Regions from separate parts of the Homo sapiens genome. Here regions 2 and 3 are each linked to region 1. Evidence: promoter capture Hi-C in 16 types of primary human blood cells and fetal thymus (Javierre and others, 2016). All regions are on one chromosome and are shown on one strand. The core of a region is centred on a gene start or on the middle of the fragment in contact, and the rest is flanking DNA. Distances in the headings are between cores, read along the strand shown. Region 1 holds the start of AP1G2 (adaptor related protein complex 1 subunit gamma 2). Region 2 overlaps DHRS4-AS1 (DHRS4 antisense RNA 1). Region 3 holds the start of BCL2L2 (BCL2 like 2).

Region 1 (3,800 bases), core at 600-3,099:
TCTATTGCGTGTGTGCCTGTGTGTGTGCACTACCCTTCTCCTGTGAGCTGGGGTTCCCATCCGATTTTCAATTCTTCTGTCCATAGACCTGAAGCAAAGGATGGGGGGCCCCACAGCCTTACCATGGTGACGCTCATGAAGCAGTTGGGCACAGGGTGGGAGGAAGACACTGGAGAGTTCAGGGACCTTCCGGATCATGTGCACTGCAGTCAGAATAGCCTGCAGAGGTCAGGGGCCTCAGACAGGGGTCAGAGGAGATGGACCCCTGCATCTACTACTATATAGCACGCAGCAGGCAGTGTGCAGGAGCACGTGCCAGGAGTCCCGCCATCTCACCTTCTTGCGCACGTAGGGACTGGGCTGCAGGAGCAGTTTCTCCACCTCTGGGGCCAGGTCTCGGCACATCTCAGCAGAGCCCATGGTGCTCAAAGTGCACAAGGCCAGGCCTTGTACTGGCTGAATCCCCTGGCTCAGGTCACTGCAGGGTTTGGGAGGACGGTCAGTCAAACCTCTGAGAAAATCAGTCCTTTTCAATACCCACAACAGGCAGTCCCCTGGGATTTCCAAGGTCCCTACTCTCCCATCTCCCTGATTCCAAGTGATTGCCAGAACCCTCTCACTTCTTGATGCTGTTGGTAATGAGCAGGTGGGCATCGTGCCTCTCATCCAATAGAAGCATGGCCCCCAGGTAGCCCACCCTCTTGTCTGTGAATCTGGAGGAGGCGATCAGTTTCAGGCACTCCATCTATAGTGAAGGGGGCAGACCAGGAAGAGGCAGGGGTGAAACCATAGACACTCACATCCCTGTTCCATCTTCCTCTTTAAAACCAGATTAACCTGTGGGGCATCATATCTCATCACTCTCCCTTCAACAAGAGGAGAAGCTTAGGAAATTCAGGCGTTAGTGGGTAGGAGGAACTAGGAGTTGAGGAGGATGGGAGCGGAGAGGAGGAGATGCCTGCCCTAAAGGAGGCTGGCCAGAGAATGAAGGGTTCAGGCCAGCTGATGACCAGTAGGGGTAGCAATGGGGAAAGAGGTTTGCAGTGCAGGCTGTGAAGACTCTGAAATTGTAGAATTTAAAAAACCAGGGCATAAACAGGTGAGAGAGTCTGGGACTCTGCCCCACTAGCCTTCATCAAGCTCAGGAGGGAGGTATTCCTGGCCAGTACCTGTCCAAAGTGGGCGGGGTAGCCCAACATGTGGACGTAGAGCAGTTTGGCCAGCTGCCGGTGCCTGTGCACTGGGTCCCCGTCGCGGAAGGAGGCCCGGATGTGGGCACACTCCTTTTGGATCACCTCCCGCTCCTGGGCCTGAGTCTTGGCCCCGCGAATCTCTTCGATGAGGTCCTGAAGCTTCAGCGAAGGCACCACCATCCTGACTGGCAGAGTCCGGGAGTGGAGAAACACTCTCTGGTCGGGCGTGCCTGGGCTTTCGGCCCAGGCCCGTCCTGTGTCAAGACCCTAAGAGCCCGGGTCCCACAGGTACCCTAAAATTGCGCCCGCATTTTACCTTTCCCGAAGTGGGTCTCCAAATTCCGCGCCCACCCCACCGCCCGAGAAGCCCACTACGCATGCGTCCGCACCCCACCGGCGCCCCTTCCTATTGAGCATGCGCGGGAGCCCCACCTATTTCTCTCTACCGTTTCCTCCCCCTACCTGGTACCCCATCCCTAGCTCAGCCATTGCTTTTTTTTCCACGACCCTCCGCTGTTTCTTCCGCGAGCTTCCTCCCCCGATTTCCATCTCAGGCAGCGGCAGCGGCAGCGACAGCCTGCCTACCCCAGGACTCCAGCCTCACCTGGCTTCTGCCTCAACTCCGCTCCTCTGCCCCCCAGCGCTTCCTGGTACGGGGCCGAGCAGGGGTTGGTGCTCCGTGCGGTCCTTCCCTCTCCCCGCCTCCACCACGGGACCCCGCCCTCCTGGGCCGACTGCAGAGCCTTCCTGAATCCTCTGACCTCGGGCCTCAGGCTTTAGCGGAGAGACAGCATGATAGGCCTGGAGTTCTTCAAGAGGCCTCCTCGCACATCCTTACCACCCGGAGAGCCTCAGTTTGGATTTGAAGCCATCGCACCCCAAAGGAGATGACAATCCCCCCCCTTTTTTGAACTTTTTTATTAATATATTTTTTTTGTTAAATTTCTTTGTATTTTTTTCCTGCAAGACTTGGTGTTGGCGGCACTGTTGTAGTTTAACTTCAATCCCAAATTCCATGAAATAGAAATCAGAAGTAAAGGTTGAGAGGGGAGGAAGGAGGGAGGCAAGCCAAGGAATAAACAAGAGTTTGACTAGAAAAAAAGAAGAGGGTATGTGTGGTGGGCATTCCTGGGCAAGGCCATTCCTTGAGGGAGGGGGTTGGCAGGCAGCTTGCCTCTGCCTCATGCAGGGGAGGGAGGAAAGATCCCCTGGGGACCCTGCAGTCCCCTCTTCCTAGGGCTTCCTGCTCCCAGGGGAAAAACTAATACCAGAGAGGGATCAGCCACAACCTCAAACAGGGCTCTCCACCCACCTGTCACCCGGGTTTGACTCCCACCTCTGCCCTGCCTGGGAAGCATGTGAGATCAGCTATCTTTGATCCCCTCCTTCTGTTGTTTTCCCATTTCACAAGATTCTGATGTAAAGGGGGAAGGGATATAACCCATTTTGGGACTACTAAACTTGTCACAGCTTCTGCTTCCATGTGAGCTCCTGTTATCTTGTCTGGTCCTATCCCCCAGAAGTGCCTCCTCCCACCACAACTCCCAGAGTTGGGATGTGGGGGCCTTGCTCAAGTGCCTCTAACCCTCTGCAGTAGAAATGTCTTCTTCAGGCCCCTTAGGAATTTAATCAAAGGCCACAAGTGAGTCCAGACCAACCAAATAAACTATTATGGGGGAGACAGAAGGGTGGGAGAAGTCAGTGGCAAAGTCTGGGCAGGGTGGACTTGACTGCATTGGATATTCTCTGTTCCTTTACACGTTGCTCTTGGCATGGCATGCCACCAGAGGGGGCTGGAGGAGGGGCTGGCCGATGAGGAGAAAAAGAGGGAAATGCTGGGGAGTTACTCTACTTTTCACTTCCCTTCTCTCCTTCAGGGAAGGATGGAATTGGGCAGTAACCCAGCTCAGTGCTTGGAGGTAAGATAATAGCCTCCAAGATTAGAGGTGGAGGATGCACCTCCTGCAGCTTTTTCACTAGGCCTCAGAGGGACAGCAGGCCCCTTAGGCTAGGGAGCCACAGCAGCTCAGCCAGTGCCTTGCCCGACATTCAATCACTCCTTCTTCATTTTCTTCCTCCTCTCCATTCAGCTTCCAGGAGTCTCCTTAGGACACCAAACCCCCACCCGCAGCGAAGTTGAGGTCTAAAGAAAAGGTGGGAGGGCGTGGAGCAATGGTCTGACTTAGATTTGTGTGTCTCAGAGAAGACAGCAACTCTGAGAGAGAAAAGCCCTTCATATGTAAACAATCTAGAGAAAGAAGGGGTTGGGATGGGGAAGGGAGTGAGGAATACAGAGACAGATCCAGAAGAAATGAGATAATCTGAAAGAAGACAGGGAAAGAAAAAGCGAGAGAAAAAAACAAAGGAGCACAGAAAAGAAAGGAAGAAGAGAAAGAAAGATAGGAGAAAACACAGCCAGGAAGAGGAGAAGAGAAAAAAGGCAGGTCAAAGGGGTGAAGAGGCACGCAACCAAAGCCAGAACCAGGCCAGGAAGTAGCCTCAGGTGAGGAGCTGGGAGAACAGGAATGCCAGGCTGAGGTCCAGGAGGGCCACGGCTCCCACCACCAGGGGGTTGGCAGCTCCCTAGAGAGACAGAGGGGGAAGCAG
Region 2 (3,800 bases), core at 952-3,451, 380 kb after region 1:
CTAAGATCACGGCAGAACTGAAGGAGATAGAGACACAAAAGAAACCTTCAAAAAACCAATGAATCCAGGAGCTGGTTATTTGAAAATATCAACAAAATAGATAGACCGCTGGCAAGACTAATAAGGCAGAAAAGAGAGAAAAATGAAATGGACACAATAAAAAATGAAAAAGGGGATATCACCTCCCATCCCACAGAAATACAAACTACCATCAGAGAACACCTCTACACAAATAATCGAGAAAATCTAGAAGAAATGGATAAATTCCTGGACACATAGACCCTTCCAAGAGAAAATCAGGAAGAAGTTGAATCTTTGAATAGACCAATATCAGGTTCTAAAATTGAGATAATAATTAATAGCCTACCAACCAAAAAAAGTCCAGGACCAGATGGATTCACAGCTGAATTCTACCAGAGGTACAAAGAGGAGCTGGTACCATTCCTTCTAAAACTATTCCAATCAATAGATAAAGAGGGAGTCCTCCCTAACTCATTTTATTAGGTCAGTATCATCCTGAAAACAAAGCCTGGCAGAGACACAACAAAAAAAAGAGAATTTTAGGCCAATATCCCAGATGAAAATCAATGCAAAAACCCTCAATAAAATACTGGCAAAACGAATCCAGCAGCACATCAAAAAGGTTATCCACCATGATCAAGCCGACTTCATCCCTGAGATGCAAGGCTTGTTCAACATATGCAAATCAATAAACGTAATCAATCACATAAACAGAACCAATGATAAAAACCACATGATTAATTATTTAGATACAGAAAGGCCTTCGATAAAATTGAACACCCCTTCATGCTAAAAACTCTCAATAAACTAGGTATTGATGGGATGTATCTCTAAATAATAAGAGCTATTTATGACAAAGCCACAGCCAGTATCATACTGCATGGGCAAAAACTGGAAGCATTCCCTTTGAAAAAAGGCACGAGACAAGGATGCCCTCTCACAACTACAACTCCTATTCAACATAGTATTGGAAGTTCTGGCTAGGGCAATCAGGAAAGAGAAAGAAATAAAAGGTATTCAAACAGGAAGAGAGGAAGTAAAATTGTCTCTGTTTGCAGATGACATGATTGTATATTTAGAAAACCTTATCGTCTCAGCCCAAAATCTCCTTAAGCTGATAAGCAACTTCAGCAAAGTCTCAGGATACAAAATCAATGTGCAAAAATGACAAGCATTCCTATACGCCAATAACAGACAATAGAGAGCCAAATCATGAGTGAACTCCCATTCACAATTGCTACAAAGAGAATAAAATACCTAGGAATCCAACTTACAAGGGATGTGAAGGACCTCTTCAAGGAGAAATACAGACACTGCTCGAGGAAATAAGTGAGGACACAAACAAATGGAAAAACATTCCATGCCCATGGATAGGAAGAATCAATATCGTGAAAATGGCCATACTGCCCAAAGTAATTTATAGATTCAATGCTATCCCCATCAAGCTACCATTGACTTTCTTCACAGAATTGGAAAAAACTACTTTGAATTTTATATGGAACCAAAAAAGAGCCAATATAATGAAGACAATCCTAAGCAAAAAGAACAAAGCTGGACGCATGATGCTACCTCACTTCAAACTATACGGCAAGGCTACAGTAACCAAAACAGCATGGTACTGGTACCAAAACAGATATCTAGACCAATGGAACAGAACAGAGGCCTCAGAAACAACACCACACATCTACAACCATCTGATCTTTGACAAACCTAACAAAAACAAGCAATAAGGAAAAGATTTCCTATTTAATAAATGGTGTTGGGAAAACTGGCTAGCCATATGCAGAAAACTGAAACTGGACCCCTTCCTTACACCTTATAAAAAAATTAACTCAAGATGGATTAAAGACTTAAACATAAGACCTAAAACCATAAAAACCCTAGAGGAAAACCTAGGACATACCATTCAGGACATAGGCATGAGCAAAGACTTCACGACTAAAATACCCAAAGCAACAGCAAAAAAAGCCAGAATAGACAAATGGGACTTAATTAAACTAAAGAGCTTCTGTACACCAAAAGAAACTATAATTAGAGTGAACAGAGAACCTACAGAATGTGAGAAAATTTTTGCAATCTATCTATCTGACAAAGGGCTAATATCCAGAATGTACAAAAAACTTAAATTTACAAGAAAAAAAAACCATCAAAAAGTGGGCTAAGAATGTGAACAGATACTTCTCAAAAGAAAACATTTATGCAGCCAAGAAACATGAAAAAATGCTCATCATCACTGCTCATTAGAAAAATGCAAATCAAAACCACAATGAGATACCATCTCACACCAGTTAGAATGGCAATCATTAAAATGTCAGGAAACAACAGATGCTGGAGAGGATGTGGAGAAATAGGAACGCTTTTATACTGTTGGTGGGAGTGTAAATTAGTTCAACCATTGTGGAAGACAGTGTGGCCATTCCACAAGGATCTAGAACTACAAATACCATTTGACCCAGCAATCCCATTACAGGGTATATATCCAAAGGATTATAAATCATTCTACTATAAAGACACATGCATATATATGTTTATTGCAGCACTGTTCACAATAGAAAAACCTTGGACCAACCCAAATGCCCATCAATGATAGACTGGAAAAAGAAAATGTGGCACATATACACCATGGAATATTATGCAGCCATAAAAAATGATGAGTTCATGTCCTTTGCAAAGACCTGGATGAAGCTGGAAACCGTCATTCTCAGCAAACTAATGAAAGAACAGAAAACCAAACACTGCACGTTCTCACTCATAAGTGGAAGTTGAACAATGAGAACACATGGACACAGGGAGGGCAATATCACACACCATGGCCTTTTCAGGGGGGTGGGGGGCTAGGGGAGGGATAGCATTAGGAGAAATACTTAATGTAGATGATGGGTTGATGGGTGCAGAAAACCACCATGGCACATGTACACTTGTGTAACAAACCTGCACATTCTGCAAGTGTATCTCAGAACTTAAAGTATAATTATTTAAAAAAAGAAATTAAAAAGTGGGGATTGGAGCATAGAAGAAAGAAAAGAAAAGAAATTTGAAGGACAGTATGTATAGTGTCATTTCAATTGTGGAAAAAATTTTTAAAAGAAAAATGCATGTAAATGTACAGGAAACTTCTGGAAGGATACACAAAGCCAAGAGCTATATGGGAAGAAGGTAAAAGAACCATAGGGAAGAGTTACCTTTTACTTTTCAAATAATTTTCTGTCCCTTTTTAAAATAATGTGTTATTTATATAATTTAATGAGTAGATGTGTTGATTTGAAAAACACACTGATCCTGAAAGTTTAAATTCCAGTTGAGAGAAAATTGATTTCTATGAAAACTATGGATTGCCCAACAATGCCAGAAAACTGAAGTGTAACTATGCAACACACACAGTGGTCAAGGTTGTCATCAGTCACTCTGATTTCACATAGAGAATTTAAAACACCTAATTGGGTGCAGTGGCTCACGCCTGCTATCCCAGCACTTTTGGAGGCCAAGGCAGGAAGATCACTAGGTCAAGGGATCGAGATCATCCTGGCCAACATGGTGACACCCCGTCTCTACTAAAAATACAAAAATTAGCTGGGTGAGGTGGTATGCACCTGTGGTCCCAGCTACTTGGGAGGCTGAGGCAGGAGAATCACTTGAACCCAGGAGGCAGAGGTTGCAGTGAGCTGAGATTGTGCCACTGCACTCCAGCCTGGCGACAGAGCAAAACTCTGTCACAAAGTAAAAAAAAAAAAAGAAGAAGAAGTTAAAATGCCACAGTCCTTGGTGGACTTAACAAAAGA
Region 3 (3,800 bases), core at 965-3,464, 260 kb before region 1:
TTTACACGTATATAGAATGCATGGATGTATTCTCTTCGTATCATTATATGTGATACAATATATACAATGTATATATTGTATATGCATATACAATATAATATATATAATGCATATAAATTAATGTCTAATAAATCATACATTAATTTATGTTACAATCAAGCTGGCCCAGGAGTTTGAGATCAGTCTGGGCAACATAATGAGATCCCTATCTCTATAAAAAATGAATTTAACCAAGCATGGTGCAGTACACCTCTAGTCCCAGCTACCAGGGAGGCTGAAGTGGGAAGATTGCTTGAGCCTAGACGGTGGAAGCTGAAGTGAACTGTGCTTGTACCACTGCACTCCAGTTTAGGCCATGGAGTGAGAACCTTGTATCACAAACAAACAAATAAACCAGGAGTGCAAATGAAGACTTGGACTAGGTTATTCTCTAAAGAAGAGGGCAACCTTGCTGGTGGCAGCCAGAATGATCAGGCTAAGAGCAAAAATGAAATGAGGATGGTTGAAAGGATACAGCCATAAAGGAGTGTAATAGGCTGTGTGTTTAGAATAGAGGAGAGAATTGAGTATGGACTTGTAAATGGTGTGGATTCAGACTATGAGAACCATATTGACTATGTGAAGGCAAGAGGTGATCTTGAAGCGATAGTGTCAAAGTTACAGCATGAGATGGCTGTGCTAGCTTCTTACATATCAGCCTATGGCTTTGGGAAAATCACTTAACCTCTCCAAACCTCAATTTCCTCATTCATAGAATGAGGATAAAACAGCATAAGGACTGGTGAGAGGAAAAAATACACATGTAAAAAAAGCACAGCATCTAATAACTCCTCAAAATATGTTAGTTTTTACCTTTTTTTTTTTTTGAGATAGAGTCTCGTTCTATCACCCAGTCTGGAGTGCAGTGGCATGATCTCAGCCTCCTGGGTTCAAGTGATTCTCATGCCTCAGCCTCCTGAGCAGCTGGGATTACAGGCTGGCTAATTTTTGTATTTTACGTCTGGCTAATTTTTGTATTTTTAGTAGAGATGGGGTTTTGCCATGTTGGTCAGGCTGGTCTCGAACTCCTGGCCTCAAGTGATCCACCCGCCTTGGCCTCCCAAAGTGTTGGGATTACAGGTATGAGCCACCGAACCCAGCTAGTTGTTACTGTTATTGCTGCAGAAAAGACCTTGCTTCTCCAGTGACCATAAGGGAAGATGGTAATACAGAGGCTTGGATTGGAGGTAGAAGCAAAGGGAGCTAGCAGAATAGGAGAATTAGGTTGCCTCTTTCTGGCCTTTGGTTGGGGCACTCTTTAAAAAAGTGCCAGATCCAAGAGCCCAGGGGGCTGGCTGTGAGTGCCCTCATGTGGATCAGCTATGGTCAGACTGCTTCACGCCTGTGACCTGCCCTGTATAAATATACTGCCATGTATAAATAATGGCCCCATATATATGTAATCTGGAAGGATAAACATCAAGCTTAACACTGGCAACCTGCAGGGAGGGAAGTGGAATTGGGTGTGTATGTGTGTGTGTGTTTGAGAACCTGTATTTTATTACTCCGCACGTCTTTATTGTTTGATTTTTTTCATAATGAGAATGAGTTTGTGTGTTGGGTAAAAAAAAGAAAAAGAAAAAAACCCCACTAAAATCAATCTAATTACAAAAGAAGATGAATTAAAGAAAAGTACCGAGAGAAACTGCTTGTGATCCAAGTCCTGGCTCCCTAATGCCTGGCTGAAGCCCAGCCCACAAAGAGAACACTGGGTTAAAGGTCCTGGAGAAAAGATGGGAAAGGTTTGGTGTCTATGTGGTGTCTGCTAGCCCCATAAGGGTAAGGCACCTGGTAGACGGTTCCCAGCTTAATGGGAACTGCTCCTGTTTTCCAGGCACACAGTTCAGGGCTGGAAAAGTTCAACAAGTGCATGGAACATCGGAAACCTCCTGAAAATGCTAAATTTGCCCCGAGATGTCCCGAAGTCCGGCATATTTCTCTGGGCAGCCTAGAGGCTCAGGAGCCCAGCCCAGCCCAGCCCACCGTGCCCTCTCAGCCAGCCCTTCTTTGCCTTCAGCAGCCCTCCCTCTTCCTGAGTAGTGGCCCTTTGCAGGCCTGCGTCCCAGCCCCGCCCCTCTCTCTGGACGCATCTCTGGGCCCCATCATCACCCGGCGCCGGGCCCTCCCTCTGCCCCCCCCTTTCTCCTCCCTCCTTCCTTCCCTCCCTTCCTCCCTCTCTCCCTCCCTCCCAGCTCCTGCACCAGGAAACGGCCCGGATCCCGGCAGCGGCCTGACCCGTGAGATCCCTAACCTGGCAGGCGGGCGGGGTTGGAGACTGGCTGAGGTGGGGGTAAGGGAGGAGCTGGGCCTTTGGGCTGCACTAGGGGGAACCGGGAATAGAGATGGTGTCGGCAGGAAGCCCTTGGCCTTGGGTTTCCCGGGAGGACAGTCATTAAACATGGATTCGGCCACACAGCTGGTAGAGCGTTGGGGGCAGGGGCCTAGGCCCAGAGCTGCAACCCTAGCCCTTCCCAGGCCAGAACCTGATCCCTGGCCTTCCCCTCCTGGTTCTGATCTCCCCCTCCCCTTTCCAGGGCTCCACGCTGGCCAGGAGGATGAAAGGCCCCAGCTGGGGGCTCCTTGCCACCAGTGCTGTGTCTTAAGAGCTGCCATCCCGGCTGGGTGAGTGTCTCCTTCCTTTCTCTGTCTGGAGTAACCCATTGCGTCTCCCACCTTTCTCTTCAGCCCATCTGCTCCCCCTCATCTTGTGTCTCTGCCAACATCTTTACATCTTGCATTTGGGGAGGTCCTAAGACCCTTCCTCTAGCCAAGAAGGTGTGGACTAAGGAGACCCGGGGGTGGGGGTGTTGTAGGGGTGTCATTGAGCTGACGTTGTCTTATTGTGAAAAGAATCTAAAGTATCCTAAACAGAAAATTTACTTGTTTTACATTTAATTTGGCATATTAGGAATGTAATGGCCAGCCACTCACAGCCTAGTCTCATATCATGACTTAATTCCCTTGTTCTTGCCTCTCCCTGTCCAGTGAGTCCTGAGCATTTCCTCTCTCCTCCTCATCTCACTGGGTTGGTCAAACCAGAAGTGCTCCTTCTGATTCTCTCTTCATATATTCATGCCAGTCTTTCATCCTTGCCTCTTATAGCCGCCCGGATGGCGACCCCAGCCTCGGCCCCAGACACACGGGCTCTGGTGGCAGACTTTGTAGGTTATAAGCTGAGGCAGAAGGGTTATGTCTGTGGAGCTGGCCCCGGGGAGGGCCCAGCAGCTGACCCGCTGCACCAAGCCATGCGGGCAGCTGGAGATGAGTTCGAGACCCGCTTCCGGCGCACCTTCTCTGATCTGGCGGCTCAGCTGCATGTGACCCCAGGCTCAGCCCAACAACGCTTCACCCAGGTCTCCGATGAACTTTTTCAAGGGGGCCCCAACTGGGGCCGCCTTGTAGCCTTCTTTGTCTTTGGGGCTGCACTGTGTGCTGAGAGTGTCAACAAGGAGATGGAACCACTGGTGGGACAAGTGCAGGAGTGGATGGTGGCCTACCTGGAGACGCAGCTGGCTGACTGGATCCACAGCAGTGGGGGCTGGGTAAGAAGCTTCTCAATTGCCGCTCTGCACATCCTTCTGCAAAGCTGGTCTCCAGGGGGAAGATGGGGGCTCTGATTGGAGGCTGAGGCAGCTATGTTGGGAATGAGGTACGGGGCTGAGTCTCCCCGTCTGGATGGAATTAGATTGAGAGATGCCTGGACTCTGCACTCCAGGGCTGCCATGCAGTCAACACTGGATGGGCTCATGGTCCCAAGCAGA

The links. The method cuts DNA at HindIII sites, captures the fragments that hold promoters and counts their contacts. A CHiCAGO score of 5 or more calls a contact.
Region 2: a contact is called between a fragment that was not itself captured here and the fragment with the promoter of AP1G2 in region 1, in 1 of 17 cell types (total CD8 T cells). The highest score is 5.4, in total CD8 T cells.
Region 3: the fragment with the promoter of BCL2L2 here is called in contact with the fragment with the promoter of AP1G2 in region 1 in 2 of 17 cell types (megakaryocytes and erythroblasts); the score reaches 6.2 in megakaryocytes.

What each region holds. Positions count from the first base shown.
Region 1 is chr14:23,565,942-23,569,741 of GRCh38, forward strand. AP1G2 (adaptor related protein complex 1 subunit gamma 2) reads right to left here and starts at 1,850. Exons shown (of 22, transcript NM_003917.5): 1 at 1,798-1,850; 2 at 1,170-1,378; 3 at 621-745; 4 at 337-478; 5 at 123-219. The coding sequence starts at 1,373. JPH4 (junctophilin 4) reads right to left here. Exons shown (of 6, transcript NM_001146028.2): 6 at 2,097-3,776. The coding sequence ends at 3,693. It overlaps AP1G2-AS1 (AP1G2 antisense RNA 1), which reads left to right. Exons shown (of 4, transcript NR_110555.1): 3 at 1-1,481; 4 at 1,748-2,135. RefSeq lists enhancers at 1,063-1,152, 1,183-1,422 and silencers at 1,903-1,952, 2,942-3,041. The HindIII fragment of the contact is 3,957 bases long and covers 1,351-3,800 here.
Region 2 is chr14:23,946,604-23,950,403 of GRCh38, forward strand. All of the region lies in intron 1 of DHRS4-AS1 (DHRS4 antisense RNA 1), which reads right to left. Among named protein-coding and RNA genes, the nearest start is that of DHRS4, 5.3 kb to the right of the region's middle. The HindIII fragment of the contact is 7,541 bases long and covers 1-3,800 here.
Region 3 is chr14:23,304,619-23,308,418 of GRCh38, forward strand. It overlaps BCL2L2 (BCL2 like 2), which reads left to right and starts at 2,215. Exons shown (of 4, transcript NM_004050.5): 1 at 2,215-2,276; 2 at 2,574-2,661; 3 at 3,142-3,581. The coding sequence starts at 3,150. It overlaps BCL2L2-PABPN1 (BCL2L2-PABPN1 readthrough), which reads left to right and starts at 2,215. Exons shown (of 8, transcript NM_001387346.1): 1 at 2,215-2,276; 2 at 2,574-2,661; 3 at 3,142-3,581. The coding sequence starts at 3,150. RefSeq lists an enhancer at 3,074-3,800. The HindIII fragment of the contact is 2,126 bases long and covers 1,462-3,587 here.